Regions from separate parts of the Homo sapiens genome. Here region 2 is linked to region 1. The links are contacts of gene promoters, found by promoter capture Hi-C in blood cells and fetal thymus (Javierre and others, 2016). All regions are on one chromosome and are shown on one strand. Each heading gives the region's core, a stretch centred on a gene start or on the middle of the fragment in contact. The rest is flanking DNA. Distances are from core to core; before and after follow the strand shown.

The links. The method cuts DNA at HindIII sites, captures the fragments that hold promoters and counts their contacts. A CHiCAGO score of 5 or more calls a contact.
Region 2: a contact is called between a fragment that was not itself captured here and the fragment with the promoter of RSKR in region 1, in 2 of 17 cell types (total B cells and activated CD4 T cells). The highest score is 5.6, in total B cells.

What each region holds. Positions count from the first base shown.
Region 1 is chr17:28,612,808-28,615,681 of GRCh38, reverse strand. RSKR (ribosomal protein S6 kinase related) reads left to right here and starts at 1,497. Exons shown (of 12, transcript NM_001174103.2): 1 at 1,497-1,595; 2 at 1,994-2,242; 3 at 2,337-2,420; 4 at 2,536-2,604. The coding sequence starts at 1,521. BLTP2 (bridge-like lipid transfer protein family member 2) reads left to right here. Exons shown (of 39, transcript NM_014680.5): 38 at 1-18; 39 at 436-1,236. The coding sequence ends at 618. All of the region lies in intron 2 of SPAG5-AS1 (SPAG5 antisense RNA 1), which reads right to left. The HindIII fragment of the contact is 13,614 bases long and covers 291-2,874 here.
Region 2 is chr17:28,928,908-28,931,781 of GRCh38, reverse strand. The region is part of intron 2 of PHF12 (PHD finger protein 12); the gene reads left to right. The region is part of intron 1 of LOC101927018 (a long non-coding RNA gene); the gene reads right to left. Among named protein-coding and RNA genes, the nearest start is that of PHF12, 21 kb to the left of the region's middle. The HindIII fragment of the contact is 151 bases long and covers 1,371-1,521 here.

The sequences.
Region 1 (2,874 bases), core at 248-2,747:
AAAGCCCTGGTTGCCCAGGTATCCCGCCAGGGCTCATGGCTGTTTGGCTAATGGGGCTGGCAGGCAGATCCTCTTTTCAGGAGCCTTTCATTTTAGAATCCATGAATAAATATCCTTGGGAAGGGGCAGGTGCATGAAGTGAGTGGCTTCTATGCCTACCCTCTCCATGACCTCACTCAGATTATTAAATTCAGTGTTTACTGAGTGTTTCGTATAGCACCATTGATTTTAGGGAACTGAGAGCTAACACAACCTAAAGTTTAGAAGGGGTTATAATTAGACTGTAAGCTTCTTGAAAGCAGAGACCATTGTATGTGAATTGCCCCATTGTGCCTTGGATGTGTTTAATAAATCTTTATTGTCTTGGTTCATTTTGATTTATTCTGCCTGCCCACTAATATTTACATTTTCTTTTACTCCTCTCCAATCTGCCAGGTAATCAAAGAGAAGCTAAGGCTGAAGTCTGCAACAGGCTCTGAGGTCCGGGGAAAGCTAGAAACTAAATCGGACCTGAACATGCAACAGCAGGAAGAGGAGGAGAAAGCCCGGCTCCTCATTGGTTTAAGTGTGGGCGACAAGAACCCTGGCAAGAAGTCCATCTTTGGCAGGCGCAAATGATTTGGCGATTCGAGTGGCTGCAGTACAGGATCTGACTCTGGCTCAGGCTCCAGGGACTTGTGGGGTGGGAGGGGCTTCCCGTTATCCACGAGGATTTGTGGGTGTCAGAGCCCATAGGCATCACTCTTCAGCACCTGGTCTGTTCGCTGCAGGGCATGGTGGACAGTAATGCTGAGTTCTGTCTCACACTGATCAGGCTCAGGGCCAGAGAGGCAACAAGAGAGCAAGACCCAGGGAATGGGCCCAGGGCAGGACCCTATTCCCTTGGGGTCAAGTGAAAGGGTAGGGGGATAGTCCTGATCAAGTGTGATAAATTTTTATAGACATATATAAATATATATATATTATATATATATTTCTAAGTGTAACTGTCCTTCCTCTGTGCCAGGAAACGGGAGGGGGCTGATCCTCTGATCCTCACTCCACTGTCATGTTTGAAAGAGGTATTGGTGTTCTGGAGTGGGGGTCAACCCCTCCCCAGTCTCTGTGCTAAGTTCACTTGGGAGGATGGCAGTAGGAGCCAGGGCTGGCCATGGGTCCCCTACCCTTCCCCGTAGGATATACCCTGGAGAATGGCAAAATGATTTAAAGAGAAAAAAAAAGATATTTTAAATTTGATGCTCATTTTTGTGTGTGTGTGTTGAGTGCATGCATTCAATCTGTGTATTCCTCCCTCATCAACCCAGAACATCCTGCAGCTGCCACTCTGAGGGTGGCCCCTTCCTTCCTCTGCCCTGAAGCTGTATCACAGAAATTTCTAGTCCTAGTGTGACTCTGGCCCCATGCTGATGGGTTTCTGCAGACTGGAAGAGGCGGGGCTCGTGTCACGCAGCATCAGGGAGAGGAATTGCTTATATAACTGGGACAGCAGATTTAGCAGAGAGAGGAGGCAGAGGCTGGGAATGGGAGCAGTAAGCTGTCGGCAGGGGCAGCACACCCAGCAGGGGGAACACACCCGGGTGGCTGTCCCTCACAAGGTAGGCTGTGGGGCTCTGGCAGCCTACTGAGGGGAGGAGAGGGAGACATGGGCTTGAGTCCTGGGAAGTTCCTGGTTAGGAGCATGGAAGTGATTACCCAATGTGGGGGTGGGGCAGGGAGGCTGTACTATGAAAGCATCACAGCCCAATACTGAGGTGCAGGCTGTACTCTTAATGCGTCATGGTGAAAATGTCCAACAATTATTTTCCTAGAGGATTTGAATTGTGCCCAGGAAATCTGGGGCTTAGCACAAAGCAAGGGTAATGGGAATTTTGCCTCATGCTCAAAAATGTACCTCTAGGGGTTGAGACTTAAGGGGAGGGAGTGCCTAGTAAGATGGGTGGAACCTGCTATGCCTCAGGAGCAGAAAGTTTAGAGTGGCTCCCTTGGTTCTCAGCAGGGTGGCAACATCCGGGGTCCCTGGGCCCGAGGCTGGAAGAGCCTCTGGACAGGTTTGGGAACCATCAGGTCAGATCTGGAAGAACTCTGGGAACTACGGGGGCACCACTATCTGCACCAGGAATCCCTAAAGCCAGCCCCAGTACTGGTAGAGAAGCCTCTGCCAGAGTGGCCAGTGCCTCAGTTCATCAACCTCTTTCTACCAGAGTTTCCCATTAGGCCCATTAGGGGGCAGCAGCAGCTGAAGGTAAGTCAGTGGAATCCCTGAGTGGGGTCTCAGTCTTTGGGAGAAGTTAAAAATGACCAGTCTCAACTGGCCTGTTCTCCATTCCTCTGTACAGATTTTAGGCCTCGTGGCTAAAGGCTCCTTTGGAACTGTCCTCAAGGTGCTAGATTGCACCCAGAAAGCTGTATTTGCAGTGAAGGTAGGGGCGTAGATACCACATTAGTCTCTGTTTCCAATCTTGATTCCAGAGAGGTTGGGAGGAATAAACAATTCAATAGCACTATCTATGAGTCATCACTACTCTCCTTTTATAGGTGGTGCCCAAGGTAAAGGTCCTACAGAGGGATACCGTGAGGCAGTGCAAAGAGGAGGTTAGCATCCAGGTATGCACAGAGTCCTGGAAAGGATTGTGGGAAGAGCTAGGCCACAGGTAGGGAAAGTACCTTTCTTGCCCACCTTCTTTTCCTGGTTCTGCCTCATCCATCTGCTTCAGCCTAGTTTAACACTAAAGTAGATCCTGGGAAAAGTATCAGCTCTCAACACAGTTTTCCCATGTCCTACTAGGGAAATCTCTGAAGCATGTCCCAGTGTATTCCTTAGTATTTGCTGGTTCTAGGATTACCAGATAGTCAGTTCCAAATATTGAGTTCCTC
Region 2 (2,874 bases), core at 197-2,696, 320 kb before region 1:
GGTGAAACCCCATCTCTAAAAAAAAAACAAAAATTAGCTGGACATGGGGGCAGGCACCTGTAATCCCAGCTACTCGGGAGGCTGAGGCAGGAGAATCACTTGAACCCAGGAGGCAGAGGTTGCAGTGAGCCGAGATCACGCCACTGAACTCCAGCTTGGGTGATACGGTGAGACTACATCTCAAAACAAACAAAAAAAAAGCAGATCTTAAGAAGTGATGGCCTCAGCCAGGTGCAGTGGCTCACGCCTGTAATCCCAGTACTTTGGGAGGCTGAGGTGGGTGGATCACTTGAGGTTAGGAGGTCAAGACCAGCCTGGCCAACATGGTGAAACCCCATCTCTACTAAAAATATAAAAATTAGCCGGGTGTGATGGCGGGCAACCTGTAATCCCAGCTACTCGGGAGGCTGAGGCAAGGGAATCGCTTGAACCCTGGAGGCAGAGGTTGCAGTGAGCCAAGATCGCGCCACTGCACTCCAGCCTGGGCAACTGAGCAAGACTCCGTCTCAAAAAAAAAAAAAAAAAGGAATGATGGCCTCAGTCTTTTAAATGTTTTGTCTTCATCTGGGAGACAATGCTTGGGTTTCCCTGGACTACTCCCTAAATTCATAGCCCCTATCCATACTTTAGGGCAGGCTTAACAAAGGGAGCCTGTGGTCATTATCTAGAGTTCTGAGGAATGTGTGGTTTTGTTTGTTTGTTTTTTGTTGTTGTTATTTTTGAGACAGGGTCTCACTCTGTTGCCCAAACTGGAGTGCAGTGGCACGATCACGGCTCTACCTCCCAGGCTCAAGTGATCCTCTCACCTCAGCCCCACAAGTAGCTGGGGCTATAGGCTCATGCCGCCTCACCTGGCTAATTTTTTGTATTTTTAGTAGAGGTGGGGTTTCACCATGTCGCCCAGGCTGGTCTTGAACTCCTGGGCTCAAGCAATCCACCCACCTCGGCCTCACAAAGTGCTGGTATTACAGGCATGAGCTACTGCACCCGGCCAGAAGTGTGTTCTTAAACTTGGTAACTCTAAAAGTGATCCTTTAGAAACTAGCAAGATGCTACTTCTGAGAGCCTCTTAATACAAGTTTAAGCATTTTACCTTGTGTTAAGATAAACGATATTGAAAATCAAATTGTTTAAAGAAGATTAAAATGAGTAGAGGTGGGATGGTTCAGTAAGTACAGGCTTGCCAGTATGGACTTGGACTCCTCTTCTGTCTCATTGTGTAGTAACTTAGAAAACATAAGTAATTTCATGTGTGATTTAACCCACAAAACAGTTGCCTGCCCCATTGCATTACCTCCCCTCATAGCTTTGAAGGATTACACTCACTTCCTAGAAGCCCATTCCTTAGTGTTCCCCAGTTCTTTAAAGCTTTATTGAGTACTTACTACATGCCAGGCATTGTACAGGGTGTGGAGGTACAAAGGCAAATGAGGCATGGAGAAGGGGATTCAGACATGTAATGGTTTGAATACAGTGTGGTGCAGAAGTGCTCTGTGGAACCAGAGACTTTCAGAGAAAGCTTCCTGGAAAGAATACGTGACTTGAGTCTCAAAAGATAAAGAGCTTACCAGGTGAAGTAGTTAGGGAAGAGTGGTGTAGTTGTGGGTAGCAGCCCTGGAGTGAGCAGAGACACAGATGAGAAACAGTATGGTCTGTGTAGGGAGCCGGCCAACTGATTGAGCTGGAGAAAGAAGAGGGTTCTGGCCACAGGGGTCTTATCTTCTCTACTTTAAATGTTTTAAATGTTTGATGTAGGATATCTTGGTACAAAGCCAGTGGGCAGATGAACAGAAATGATGAGAAACAGAATCAGAAGTGACACCCTTCAGGGTTAATTTTGATAGGACAGCTACTGAAGCATAGCAGAGTCTGTAGGCCTTTGAAAATTACTTGCATGCATTTCAGTAGTTTAGATGTGGCCTTTTGTAGAATTACATTGGCTAGAATGAGCGGAGACTTACAGGTGACATTCACCTGTGGTCCTCTAGGGCTTGGAGATCTGTCCCAGCAGGCCATTGTTTTTCCAGTTTCCTGATTCCTGGTAAGCATCCTCCTGAGATTTCACTAAGGAAACAGGGAGGAAGGGAAGTAATGAGCTGTGAAGCCTTGGTGGGCATCTGACATGTAAGCTTGGGGCTCTGGGGAAACAGGGAGCTAAGAAAATTTGCCAAGTCAAGTGCTATTTTATGTAGAAATGGTAAAACAGCATAGCTTTAAGCTCTGAGATACTCAAGTTTGGCTGGGCACAGTGGCTCACGCCTGTACACCCAGCACTTTGGGAGGCCGAGGTTGGTGGATCACCTGAGGTCAGGAGTTCAAGACCAGTCTGACCAACATGGAGAAACCCCATCTCTACTAAAAATACTAAAAAATTTGCCAGGCATGGTGGCGCATGCTTGTAATCCTAGCTACTCAGGAGGCTGAGGCGGGAGAATTGCTTGAACATGGGAGGCGGAGGTTGCAGTGAGCCAAGATCGCACCATTGCACTCCAGCCTGGGCAACAAGAGCAAAACTCCATCTCAAAAAAAAATACTCAATTTTTTTTTTTTTTTACCATTTCCCCCATTATTTGAAGAAAAATTTCCTGCATACCATTCCAAGTAGGTGACTTAGCCAAGAACTCAATGGTAGGAATTTCTTAAGCATAAATGTGGTTTTTGTTGTTGTTGTTGTTGTTTTGTTTTTGAGACAGAGTCTCACTCTGTCGCCCAGGCTGGAGTGCAGTGGCACTGTCTCGGCTCACTGCAACCTCCACTTCCCAGGTTCAAGCGATTCTCCTGCCTCGGCCTCCTGAGTAGCTGGGACTACAGGCGCGTGCCACTACACCCGGCTAATTTTTGTATTATTAGTAGAGACAGGGTTTCACCATGTTG